2 separate regions of the Homo sapiens genome follow, and region 2 is linked to region 1. The links are contacts of gene promoters, found by promoter capture Hi-C in human tissues and cell types (Jung and others, 2019). All regions are on one chromosome and are shown on one strand. The core of a region is centred on a gene start or on the middle of the fragment in contact, and the rest is flanking DNA. Distances in the headings are between cores, read along the strand shown.

Region 1 (6,747 bases), core at 2,711-5,210:
TGGCCGGGCGCAGTGGCTCATGCCTGTAATCCCAGCACTTTGGGAGGCCGAGGCTGGTGGATCACGAGGTCAGGAGATCGAGATCATCTTGGCAAACACAGTGAAACCCCATCGCTACTAAAAATAAAAAAAAATTAGCCGGGCATTGTGGCGGGCACCTGTAGTCCCAGCTACTCGGGAGGCTGAGGCAGGAGACTGGTGTGAACCCGGGAGGCGGAGCTTGCAGTGAGCCAAGATTGCACCACTGCACTCCAGCTGGAGCTACAGAGTGAGAGTCCGTCTCAAAAAAAAAAAAAAGCCCATGCCTGAAAAAAAGGAACCATTCCCTATGCTCCCCCAAATCCCAAAAGAGAACACATTCTGCCTGCAAAGCCAGAACTTAATCCATCATGACCCGAAAACTCTATTTCTTTGTACTGTAGCCTTAGACCCTTGACCAGACCCCTCCACAATCCTCCTTGGTGCTACATTAAAGCGGGTAGACCCAAGTTCAATAAAGGGTAGAATGCAAAACTCATAATTTTCCCACCTTCTTTTCTCTTTACTTTTTTTTTTCTGTCATATCCCTAAGTTTTCTGCTTGAGGGACTTAGTACACTGGTATGTCTAATGAAAACTGTTCTGAGGCTTTCTTACCTAAAACTCACTGTTTTGAGTAGACTCTGCCAAATTGGTCCTGGCTTCTGGCAAGTAGTTTCTTTGTATCTTTCCATCAGTGGGGAGCTTGGGCCCTGAATTCTGAATTGGGCTACTCATGCTCCCGGAGTTGCAGCCAGCCTTTCTCCTAGGTTATATAACAGGGCTAAGGACAGGGTTAAATTCCATCCAGTTTTTAACACCTCATATTTGAGAACTGGTGCTATCAAGAATTTATATGCACTCCAATAGCTTCCTTAATTTTTCCTGTCTCAGCATGTAACTTACTATTTACTTACTTTTCTCTTCTACCAGACCCTAAACTCTTTGAGGACAGAAATACTGCGCTATTTACCACTATATTTCCAGGGTCTAGTATAGTACTTAATGAATGTTAGTTAACTGAATGAAGTCCTGTATCAGGTAAGACTTTGAACTGCTAATGAAAGCAAACCTAATGAAAAACCAGCCACACCCCCAAAAAAATTCCAGCACATTTTTAGCTCATGTAACTGCAAAGTCCAAGGCTCAAGTCATGCTATATTCTAAGGAACTTGTCTTTTTCAATATTTTTGCTCTCCTCTCTGCTGTGCTTGGCTTCATTCTCAGGTAGGCCTTCTTTAGATGGAGTGCCCTGGTATACCAAATGCAATTTCTAATTCTGGTTGGGCCCGATTGTCTTGGTTTGATTCATGAGCCTATCCCTAAATCAGTTACAGAAGCCAGAGGAGTGTGCTGCTTTGCTTGGTGAGGCCCAGGTCAAAAGACCCTTGAAACTGAGGGTGGTGGAGTGAGCTCCCCAGAAGTATAGTGGATTGACACCTGTGTGTGTGTGTGTGTGTGTGTGTGTGTGTGTGTGTGTGTAGGGGGTGGTATAGGGAGCATGGATGCTAGTCAGCTGAAGCAATTCCACTGTCACTCCCATTGCTGCGTTCCATATCTTTTCCTGACATTGAAACCCTGTGGGGCAGGGATACCAGCCAACATGACTTGGTCTGTGACTGCCAGCTCTTCCCCAGAGGTAGGGGGTCACCCTTCCTGCTTAGAGTGTTCCCCAGACTCTGAATTACCCTGCTTACAGCGTGATCCTGCTTGTCCTCTTCCTGCTCTAAATGTTTCCAGTAAGCTGCAGAGTACATGCAAAGTCCTTTCAGACACTTTGGCAACTAGTGAGTCATGTATACAAAGAACTATTCAAAGCAAAATGTGGCCAGTTCTCTAAGAGAGTAGTGAAAAGATGTTTGGAGAACAGAGATAAAGGCATGCAACATCTGGCTGGGAGTATGAGAGCAGACAACCAATTCAGGGACTATCAAACACCCAGGACAAGCTTAAGTATAGGATGAATAATGACAGTAACAGTGATAATAATAACAACAGCTGACACACATCGTACTTACCATGAACCAGGCCCTGTTCTAAGAACTTTATATTAATCAATTCAATAAATCTTCACAACACCCTTTCAAGTAGATATAATTATTTTCCTCCTTTTAGAGATGAAGTTAAGTAGCTTGCCTAAGGTTACAGAGTAAGAAAGTGGCAAAATAAGTCTGGGTTCCTATCACAGAGGGTCTTAAAAGCCAGGTACAGTGATAGCCTTGACTTACAGTCTGTGAGTACCTGGTTCATCTTTCCCAATGGACTCAAACATTCTGAGAGCAGGTCTGTGTCTAGTTCACCTTCGTGTTTTTTAGAACACCTAGGTGGGCTCTATACTTAGGTAGAAGCCAAATATCTGTCCTCTTTGAATAGACTATCTTTTCCTTTAGTAAACAAGCATCTGAAAACAGTGTGTTACTGGAGGGCGCCTTGGCAAGAGCCTGTGGTACTAGCTACTCCTCCAGAGGCTGAGGCAAGAGGATTGCTTGAGCCTAGGAGTTTTAGGCTGCAGTGCCCTATGCATTCCATGCTTGAGCAACACAGGGGGATTCTGTCTAAAATAAATAAATCAATAAATAAAAGCAGTGTGTTACTGCAATGAGCATTGTTATATAAATACACAGTCTTCCACAGAAGTTACAGCACTAGACAGGAAGTTATGGATCTGACTAATTGAGGCTTTCACCTCTGACTCAGTGTGTGACTCTGGCAAGTGACCTAATGGCTCCAAGCTACAGATTTTCCAATGGTAAAAGAGAGGAAAACAGGTATCCAACATATTCCACCAGGACATACTGAGAATATAATAATAACAATAAATAAATACACATTTTAAGTTCTTGCAATACTTAAGAGGAAAGGTACTACAAGAAACCAAGATATTTTTCTTAGTGTCACCATAATTTCAGTATCAACAGATATGCATTAGGAGCCAAATATTCTAGACATTATGGGATTACAACAGAACAGATGAAAACAAATCTCTGCTAGTCTCTGTTTTATAGGCTATTATGGACAAGGTCAGTTTCAGTGGTCAACACAGAGCTTATTTAACAGAACATCAAAATGGGGGTGAACGTTAGAGCTCACCTGGATTTTATATATATATATATATATATATATATATATATATATATATATATATATATGTATGTATGAGAGACAGAGAGAGATCCAAAAGGGGTTAATAATACGGAAACAACTGTCCTCAAAGAAAAGAACCGGCTCTGGGTTTGAGTCTCAGTGGAAGAGTTTACCATCTGTGCGACCTGGGGCCAGTCACTTAGCTTTTCCAAGCCAATTTCCTTCCCTCTAAAATAGTGATAGTAACGATCTACTTCAAAGCGCTCGTGCTTGAAAAACTTTAATCCAGTGGCTGGCTAAGCACCAGAAGTCAACTATTACTATTGTTATCGCTGCAGGAGCAAGGTATTTTCTGGCTCTTTCTCTATAAGAAAAACCACTGTTTCTCCAGTTAGGCTGCATTCATGAGGCCGAAGCAGAAACCCAAGTGCTTTAAAAAGCTCGGAGACCGGTGCTGCAGAAACATGAACCCAGTCATCCAGGGCTTTGGTTAAAGCACAGCCCCCTCGGCAAAGCCCACCTTTCATTTCCTTCCCTTCCATTTCGGGAAAGCCAAGCTCCCCCTACGCGTTCGGTTATCTTATTTTCTTGCCTCGCCAGGTCGCTGGCCTGTCTCTGGCTTCTCTCCGCGACCTCTCGGTCGTGCAGGCTCCGCGGCAGCGAAGCGGCTGGGGCTGGCGCCTCGCTTCCTCAGCGCTCCATTCTTCCCCTCGGCTCCCGCCGGCCGCAGCCGCCTTCCGCAGCCGGGGTTCCCGCCGGGATTGACGCGCTGGGGGAGGAGCGGTTTCTCGTTGCGCGCCTCTAAGGAACATTACGGCAGGGCTCGTTCCTGGCTCCGGCCGCCAGCCCCAGCCTCCCAGGTCCGGAGCCCGGACTGGCGGAGGCCGCGAGGGAGGGAGCACGAGCGAGGAGGCACGCGCCCGCCGGTCCGCACCCGGCCCGCCGCAGCCGCCGCCGCCGTCGCCGTCGCCGCAGCAGCCATGGCCGAGCGCCGCGCCTTCGCCCAGAAGATCAGCAGGTAAATATCCGGCGTGGGGCGCGCCGCCGCCGCCGCCCGAGAAAGAGCCGCGGAGTCCTCCCAGGCCTGGCCTAGGAGGCGGGTGGGTGTGGCGGGGCCGGCACCGGGATCCCGCGGCCTGGCTCGCGGCGGGGCGGAAGGGGTTCGGGGTGGCTGAGGGGGTAGCGGAGGCCTCGCGCCGCCCTCGAACCCCGGCCTTCAGCCCGCGCCCGCCGCTGAGCCTCGGCAGGGAGCGGAGAGGGCCGCGGACTCCAGCGCGCCCGCCTCCTCCTGCTCCTCGGCGGCCCGGGCCTGGACTTCTGCGGAGGTTTATGGAAGGGCGGTCGGCCGCTTCCCAAATTCTTTGTGTTCCCACCCCCGGGCTCGTCGGGGGCCGCCGCGGCGTTTCGCCCCCTCCCGTCTCTCCGCCCACCCCTCTTGGCCCCTAGAGGGTGCGGGGTCCGCCCTCCTCCACCCCAACAAAAGGAGAAACGCGCGGCGGCTCGGGGCGGGTGGGAGGCCGCCCCTCCTTCACGCGTCTCTCTCTTCCTGAGAAATCTGACAGGAACCCTCTTTGCACCCTCGGGCCAGGTTCAAAGTGGACTTGTGCGTCCAGGATTGAAAACGTGTGGACAGAATGAAAAGTTGAGAGCTGCGGGCTGCACCTTCGGTGTGCAGCTGCCGAATCCCTGACGGATTGCAGGCTGAAGCTTGTTCTGAGTTCGCCTGTGAATTTAACTGTGCGCCTGTGTTTCTCAGAGCACCCGAGAAGATGGATGATAGGCAGTGTTCTTTATACACTGACATCCTTTTATATGTTAGCAGTCTTGAAGTAAAGCAAGTGATTGCAGTCTTGAAGTAAAGCAAGTGATTGAGGTGGAGGTTTCAAAGCCTTTCACCTACTTGTGGTGGTTGGTTGCCACCTTTCTCCCACCCGCCAAATAAAAATTAAATGACAGAGGACTCTAATATTTGTAGAATTTCTTTGTGGAGTATACTTATGTATGAGACAGTAGACATTTTTGTTTTAATAAAATCATATTTGTGTGAATTATGATGTCCCAAGAAAAGAAGCATTCATATTAAATTACCTTTTTTTGTTTTGGGGCAGTTGTAGTTCTGTGGCTCTGAGTCTTTTTAGTTTGCTGACATTTCTTTAAAAATTTTGGGCCGGATGCAGTGGCTCAGGCCTGTAATCCCAGCAGTTTGGGAGGCCGAGGCAGGAGGATCGCTTGAGGCCAGGAGTTCAAGACCAGCCTGGGCAACATAGCGAGTCCCCCCCACCCCATCTCTGCAAAAAAATTAGCCAGGTGTGGTGTTGCACCTGTCGTCCTAGCTGCTTTCGAGGCAGAGGCTTTTTTTTTTCTTTCTTTCCAGCGTTCTAGCACTTTTTTTTTCCTGAAGGGGCAAAATAGCAAGTGTTTAAGAGCATGGGCTCTACTCTCAGACCCCGACATGGGTTCAAATCCTGATTGGTATTTTCTAGCTTGGGACTTTGGCCAAGTTGTTGGGCCAAATTTCCGTTTCCTCGTCTGGCAAATGAGAATAATAATAGGACCCAGCTCATAGTGTTGTTGTGAACATTAAGTGGCATAATTTGTGTAATGTGCGTAGGATAGTACAGGGCCTATACTACCTGTCATCAAACACTTGTAGTAATTAGTTTCTCCCAGGGAGTTATGATGACAGGAAATTTTTTTTTTTTGTAAAATAATTAGGTCTTACTTCTGATGATGATGTCATTAAAAAATGTTATTACTGGCCGGGCGCGGTGGCTCACGCCTGTAATCCCAGCACTTTGGGAGGCCGAGGCGGGTGGATCATGAGGTCAGGAGATCGAGACCATCCTGGCTAACAAGGTGAAACCCCGTCTCTACTAAAAAAAAAAAATACAAAAAATTAGCCGGGCGCGGTGGCGGGCGCCTGTAGTCCCAGCTACTCGGGAGGCTGAGGCAGGAGAATGGCGTGAACCCGGGAAGCGGAGCTTGCAGTGAGCCGAGATTGCGCCACTGCAGTCCGCAGTCCGGCCTGGGCGACAGAGCGAGACTCCGTCTCAAAAAAAAAAAAAAAAAAAAAAAAAAAAAAAAAAAGTTATTACTTGACATGTATTCCTAGTTTTAATTTCTCTTATTAGAACCAGAAGTTTATCTCTGAAAACATCATGCTGATAAAGTAAGTGCACTTTAGAGAGTTGGATATGAAATTGTATGTCTATTAGTGGAGTTCGCCACCAGATGGGATAGGACAAACCACAAGAGAAAAAGAGAATCAGTTGTGCAAAACAACACAAAATGCAAATAAGAACAGCTTTCTAAGAAGTTATAAAATTAAGATAATGTGAATGAAGAAATGTGCACTTATTGGACAGACAGGAGGTGGATATGGTAGTGATTGGTGATTGGACATGCAAGGTGAGGCGGACTGAGGAGTCTGGGATGACATCCTAAGTTGGGCAACCACGTGGATGATGGTGGCAGTCTTTGGGGTAAGGGAGTACAGGAGGAAAAAGGAGTTTGAGATTGGGAGATGCAAGTGGGATGGAGATGATGATTCAGTTTTGGACATGTTAATTTTGAGGGGCTCATGAATCATTCAGAGAGAAATATCTATTTGGTTTTTGGTGCAGGTTGAAGGTGCAGAAGAGAGATT
Region 2 (6,747 bases), core at 679-3,178, 840 kb before region 1:
ACTGGTGACGCATCAATTTACTGTCAACCTCTAGTTTTTCTAGTGTAGTCTTGAGACATTGCTCGTTGGTTGTCATATATAATTTACAAAACTACAGGAAAAAAAAAGTCCAGTGGGTAAAACATTCAATCATACACTGGGGAAGAGGAGAAAGCAAATGCACATTAGTAGGCAAGGAACAGACTGATAGATGGAATATATTTCCTATTGATGGTTACGCATTTTATTTTTTTGAATCAGATTGACCAGCCTCAAGTGACCTAGTGAAATGTAGCCGTGATTCAATGAGGAGTTCATACTCTGTGTGAAAATAAAATGTTACACAAGGAGAGGTGATTTATTATTATTTTTTTACAAGATGTGTAGGCTTGCATTTGTTCAAAATAATTTTTATGATTCTTCCACCCCAGAAAAAGTACATTTCTGAGTAGAGTCTCTATGTTTATGTGTGTATCTGTCCGTGTGTGTGAGCACACATGTTTTTTAACTTGGTTATATTATTTTAATGTAGTCATCAGATTGCAATTATGGGACTGGAAAAATTAAATTTCATGCACAATATTTAAGGATGTCATTGCCAATATTAAAAAGATGCATCCCTTTAAAAATAATTTGCTGACATGTTAATTAGTTGACATGTTAACTGATTTAATTGTTTCACAATGTATACATATATCAAAACATTGCATGTACACTGTAATGTCAATTATACCTTAATAAAGCTGGGGAAAAATAAAAACACTTTTCCAACACAGTATGTAAATTTACATCAATGTGAGCTTATGTACCTTGATGTAGTCAAATTTGCCATCAGCATTTACATCAGCCAAATTTATTATGGCATTTACTTCTTCTCGAGTCATCTTCTCACCTCTCTGAAAAAAAAAAACAAGATTTATTTTAAAGCAACATGATTACTCCTTTGTTATTCATGGGGACAGTGGAAGCACATTTTAATCTTTTCCACAAGTAAGTCTGAATGTATTGCTTCATTATAAATCATGAGTATTATATATAAAGAAAGAATGAGGCGGCTATATAAATTTCACAATTTTATTAAATTTTGTGAAAGTGTGCTGAATTTCAGTTTACTAAATAGTAACTAACAATTGAATAGTATAGAGTCAGTTATAACTGCTATTGAGTTTAGGGGAATGATATTTTCTAACATTGTATCAAAAAACAGAATGGATTCCTAATCCCATTTATATTTGGTTTTCCTTTTACTTATCACATATGGAACTATCACTGATTTTCAAAGAGTTCTGAACAGGAACCAATTAAATAGGAGAACAAGGGGATGGTAACATAAGCTCGATTTTATACTTTATCTTTTATTTACAAAGAACATTTCATCCAGAAGGATTCCTAAGTACGTTATAAATAACATGTAAGTAATTCATTTAACCTCTCAATGAAATACTTATTTTTAATGTGGACTTTGGTAGTCAAAGCTAGATTCCAAGCTGTTTTAGAAAATATGCACATTACAAAACAGTTTTACAGATCTTACCTTTGTTAGAAATTTATAAAGGTCAGTGTGTAAAATACAGCCATCATCATTTACATCTAATTGCTTAAATGATTTTAGTAGTTCTGCTTTTGAAGTAGGTTTTTCCTTCCTTAAAATTATACAAAAATCATCAAAATTCAGTTTGGCAGTTTGAGGAGTCCAATACTTATTAATGGTCTTTTGGGATGGATTTCTTCCTGCATGCTGAAGAGCTGCCCAACAAGACAAGTATTATTTGTGATTGTAACACCTGGAATTTGTACTTAAGCGCATTTTTTTCTTCAAATCATTATGTATTATGATATTTACAAAACACTATACATATACCAGTACATTACTTTGGTGTTGACTTATCTAGTGATACCAAGATAGGCCTGACTTTGAAAAACAAAAATATTTATGCCACCACCTAAACATTCTTTAATTATTAATACCAGAATTAAATAGATTTTCCTTATTCTGACAGTTTGGTTCTCAACCTACATGGTTTAAATAACTAACAATATCTGATTACTTAAGAGCTTCTAAAAGCTTCTAAAGGAAATACAAGATTAAAAACAACCATCCACTTAATTGTTTGGGGGACAAAAGGATAACACAAAAAGTATAAATTAGTACTTTTTCTGGCTAAATAAATACCTTAATGACTATTCAGCCATAAAGAAGGAGGAAATCCTGTCATCTGCAACAACATGGATGAACCTGGAGGACAACATGTTAAGTGAAATAAGCTAGACGCTGAAGACAAATACAGCGTATCTCACTTGTGTGGAATCTTAAAAAAAAAGTTAATATCCTAGAAGTAGAGAATAGATCAGTGGTTACCAGAGACTGGGAAGGGGAACTTAAGTACTATCTAAGTACTCTGGGGGTAGGGGAGGATGGGGAGAGGTTGGTCAATGGGTACAAAGTTACAATCAGATAGTGGGAAATAGGTTCTGCTATTCTATTGCACAGTATGGTGACTATAGTTAGCATTAAGGTACTGTATATTACAAAACAGCTAGAAGAGAGGCTTTTGAATGGTCTCACCACAAAGAAAAGATAAATGCATGCAGCGACGGATATACTAACTACCTTGATTTGATCATTATACAACATATAAATGTATTGAAATGTCAAATTGTACCCCATAAATACATACAATGTGTGAATTTAAAAAACAAATATCTTAATGAAATGAGAAAATCATTCATTTAAGAATACCAATGTCAATAAGGCACGATATCTAAAATGTTCATCTTTGCTAGGTACTAAGCTTTCAAAAACATTAATCATGTTCCAAATGTCAAATATATGCACATAAAGTATCCCTTTGCAGGCATGGTCCTGCTAAAAATCAAGAATGTCAATATACTGTGAGAGAAGATTATTATAGAGATGCTATGGTCAAACTACTCTTCATTTTTAACCATATCCTTCTATCTATGAAGAGCAAAGAAGTACATGTGAGAAAAGCTTTGTATATTTATGTATGTCATATCACTCTAAAATAAAATGGTTAAAGCAACTGCAGATATTTTGAACAGTTGAATAGAAGTAACTTGGTAATTTGCAAATAAATCTCTGCATACTGAAATATAACATTTTCTAAAATGAACCAATGATAAATTTCCTAAGCACCACAGAAGGAATTAACATAATTTTAAAAGATACAATTGTCCTGAATTGTACTGCCAAATTCTATTACAAAATCTTATATTGGATAGTTCCAACTATCTTTATAGAAATTCACAAGATCTGCGCATCACCAATCAGCATCAAAAAATGATAATCTGGATATTGTACAATTTAATGTAATAAGGACCAGTAAGTATAAAACAATTTCACTAAAGAAATATCCTCATGGAAATAGAAACCAGATCAGGGTAATAAATACAGATATAAGTGAGTCAGTTATATTGAACATTATTGTGCACAAGTATAGTATAGGGTGATTTTTGTTCATCAATACAAACTTTTTAGTTCCAAAGAAATTTTATATTCTAGACTGGCGTGGTGGCTCACACCTGTAATTTGGGTTTACAATTATACTTTGGGTGGCCGAGGTGGGCAGGTCACCTGAGGTCAGGAGTTCAAGACCAGCCTGGCCAACATGGTGAAACCCTGTCTCTACTAAAAATACAAAAATTAGCCGGGCCTGGTGGCCTGCGCCTGTAATCCCAGCTACTTGGGAGGCTGAGGCAGGAGAATCGCTTGAACCTGGGAGGCGGAGACTGCAGTAAGCCGAGATTGAGCCACTGTGCTCCAGCCTGGGTGACAGAGGAAGACTGCATCTCAAAAAAAGAAATTTTATTTTATTATTATTATTATTTTTTGAGATGGAGTTTGGCTCTTGTTGCCCAGGCTGGAGTGCAATGGTGTAATCTCGGCTCACTGCAACCTCTGCCTCCCGGGTTCAAGTGATTCTCCTGCCTCAGCCTCCCGAGTAACTGGGATTACAGGCATGCACCACCACCCCCAGCTAATTTTGTATTTTTAGTAGAGACGTGGTTTCTCCACGTTGGTCAGGCTGGTCTCAAACTCCTGACCTCAGGTGATCCGCACGTCTCGGCCTCCCAAAGTGCTGGGATTATAGGCATGAGCCACCGCGCCTGGCAAGAAATTTTATAATCTAAATAGGAAGTCTACATCTGACTGTAAAATTGCTATCTATGGCCATAACTCATGGGTTATAACATATTAAAAATCCATAAATAAAATTCTCTTCTCCTCTAGATTATGCCAGTGACTTTCAGAGCTAACAGAAGTTGTAGTTGTGGTAACCGCCATCTTCCATATACCTATAAAGGCTTTGTGGAAATTCATTGCATTGGAGATAATATAAATGTTTTTATTCCCACAGTTTTATTTTGGATGTCGACAAAAGCCCTGATTACCATGCTGCCCTAGCAACAACAGGTAAGTAAGTATTTTGCCTAGTGTGTAAATGAACTATTCCTTAATTCAGCTGTTTACAGAATCAAAGAAATGGCAATATGTGTTTTAGGATTCCAACCCCAGCCAGCTCCTACCCTTTAAAAGCTGGGAATACAAGTAGATGTAAATGAAGTTGTAATTTTTTTTTTGCCTCTAAAATATTTTTATTTTAAAAAGGCTTAGTGTGCAAAGATGTTTATCATATTGCTACACTACTGCTACTAATAATAAAGGAAACAATGTTCAAAGAATCAAGGAGTGGTTAACTGAATCATGGTACATATACAGAACACATTTACACAACTACTAAATTATTTTTATGACAATGAATATTATATAAAATTTCCTGCAAAATTTCTTCCTTATTGTTAAGCCTAAAGTGCCTTTTTTCTAAGGTTCTTTTTTTTAAATCTTTAATTTTTGGAGATACATAGTAGGTGTATAATATGAGATTTTTTGATACAGGTATGCAATAATTACATCAGGGTAAATAGGGTATCTGTTGCCTCAAGCATTTATCCTTTGTTTCAAACAATCCAATTATACTCTAATTATTTTAAAATGTACACTTAAATGATTTTTTTTACTAGTGTCACCCTGTTGTGCTAGCTAAATACTAGGTCTTATTCTTTCTATTTTTCTATTTTCTATTTTCTCCCCCTACCCCCACTACCTTTCTCAGCCTCTGGTAACCATCATTTTACTCTCTATCTCCATGAGTTCAATTGTTTTAATTTTTAGCTCCCACAGATAAGAAAGAATGTGTGATGTTTGCCTTTCTGTGCCAGGCTTATTTCACTTAACATGATGACCTCCAGTTCTATCCATGTTATTGCAAATGACAGGATCTCATTCTTTTTTATGATAGCTGAATGGTACTCCACTGTGTATATGTACCACTTTTTTTATTTTTATCCATTCATCTATTGATGAACTCTTACGTTGCTTCCAAATTTGGGCTATTGTGAATAGTGCTGCAGTAAACATGGGAGTGCAGATATCTCTTCAATATGCTGATTTCCTTTTGGATATATACCAAGCAGTAGGATGCTAGATCCTATGGTAGCTGTATTTTTAGTTTTTTGAGAAGCCTCCAAACTGTTCTCCACAGTGGTTGTACTAATATACATTCCTACCAACAGTGTAAGAGGGTTCCCTTTTCTCCACATCCTTGCCAGCATTTGAAGTCCACATGAAAGAAAATTATATCTTCTGTTCAGTTTTGAGAAAAAAGGTATGTAACTTTTTCTCACAAGTGGTAGCTTAGCATATGCTTGCTGCTATCTTTAGTAACAAAGAAAATATTGTTTTAAAAAATGTACTGGTAATTAGACAAGAACAACTTTCTCAGAATAAAATTAATTATGCCAAAACATGTACTCAGTAAGCAGATGTCCCCATAGCTAAGAAATTGATACAATCTATTTCCTACTAACTTTAATCTCTAGGTTTAGAATTAGCTGGATCTAATGATTAAGTTTGATGATAGTAAAAATATCACGTAGCTGTAGATATTTAAATTTTGACACCATGATATGGATCTTTTGCCAGGGTTTACTTTAAAGTTCTGACATGCATCTATAATCCTGTATTATTTATAAATTGACAAAAAAGGAACTTAAAGCTATAGTAATGCTACCGCTGTCTCTGACCTTAAAATGGAAATGCACATAAGTGGCAGAAGGATATAGATGAAAGGTGTAGCAAGAAGCAGCAGCTCTAGTTCATGTTACTCCTTTTTAAAAAATAGTTTATCTAAAATCAATTATTACAACGTTAAGAGAGTATTCCACCCTAAAACCAAAAGTGTATATAACACTGAAGAGACAAACACTGTATAGTTATCCTCCCAGATAATTTCATAAGATTGATAGCACCTTAGTAATACATACACATTGATTCACAAACTAAATGCCATAGTAGTGGAAGGCATGTTAAACTTTTAAACTTAGCAGATTCCTTCTCTTAGTATATTTTCAAAACAGTAACAAAAAAAAACTCGGATTATTTTAGAAATAATGGCAAATTAGAAGTAATTTTAATTTATTGGCCAGGCGTGGTGGCTCACGCCTATAATGCCAGCACTTTGGGAGGCCGAGGCAGGCAGATCACCTGAGGTCAGGAGCTCGAGACCAGCCTGGCCAACATGGCAAAACCCCGTCTCTACTAAAAATACAAAAATTAGCCAGGCATGGTGGCGTGCAACTGTAATCTCAGCTACCCAGGAGGCTGAGGCAGGAGAATCGCTGGAACCCAGGAGGCAGAGGCTGCAGTGAATCAAGATCGCGCCACTGCACTCCAGCCTGGAAGACAGA

The links. The method cuts DNA at HindIII sites, captures the fragments that hold promoters and counts their contacts. A contact is called where the count stands out against the background at its distance.
Region 2: a contact is called between a fragment that was not itself captured here and the fragment with the promoter of DOCK7 in region 1, in 1 of the 25 tissues and cell types used here (hippocampus).

The regions. Positions count from the first base shown.
Region 1 is chr1:62,685,599-62,692,345 of GRCh38, reverse strand. It overlaps DOCK7 (dedicator of cytokinesis 7), which reads left to right and starts at 3,960. Exons shown (of 50, transcript NM_001367561.1): 1 at 3,960-4,119. The coding sequence starts at 4,082. It overlaps DOCK7-DT (DOCK7 divergent transcript), which reads right to left and starts at 3,864. Exons shown (of 2, transcript NR_185999.1): 1 at 3,694-3,864. RefSeq lists an enhancer at 2,554-2,848 and a silencer at 3,858-4,607. The HindIII fragment of the contact is 7,491 bases long and covers 1-6,091 here.
Region 2 is chr1:63,526,798-63,533,544 of GRCh38, reverse strand. EFCAB7 (EF-hand calcium binding domain 7) reads right to left here. Exons shown (of 14, transcript NM_032437.4): 3 at 1,514-1,725; 4 at 789-875; 5 at 1-91. It also overlaps a transcript of ITGB3BP not described here and the pseudogene RN7SL488P. Among named protein-coding and RNA genes, the nearest start is that of EFCAB7, 6.6 kb to the right of the region's middle. The HindIII fragment of the contact is 6,676 bases long and covers 1-5,266 here.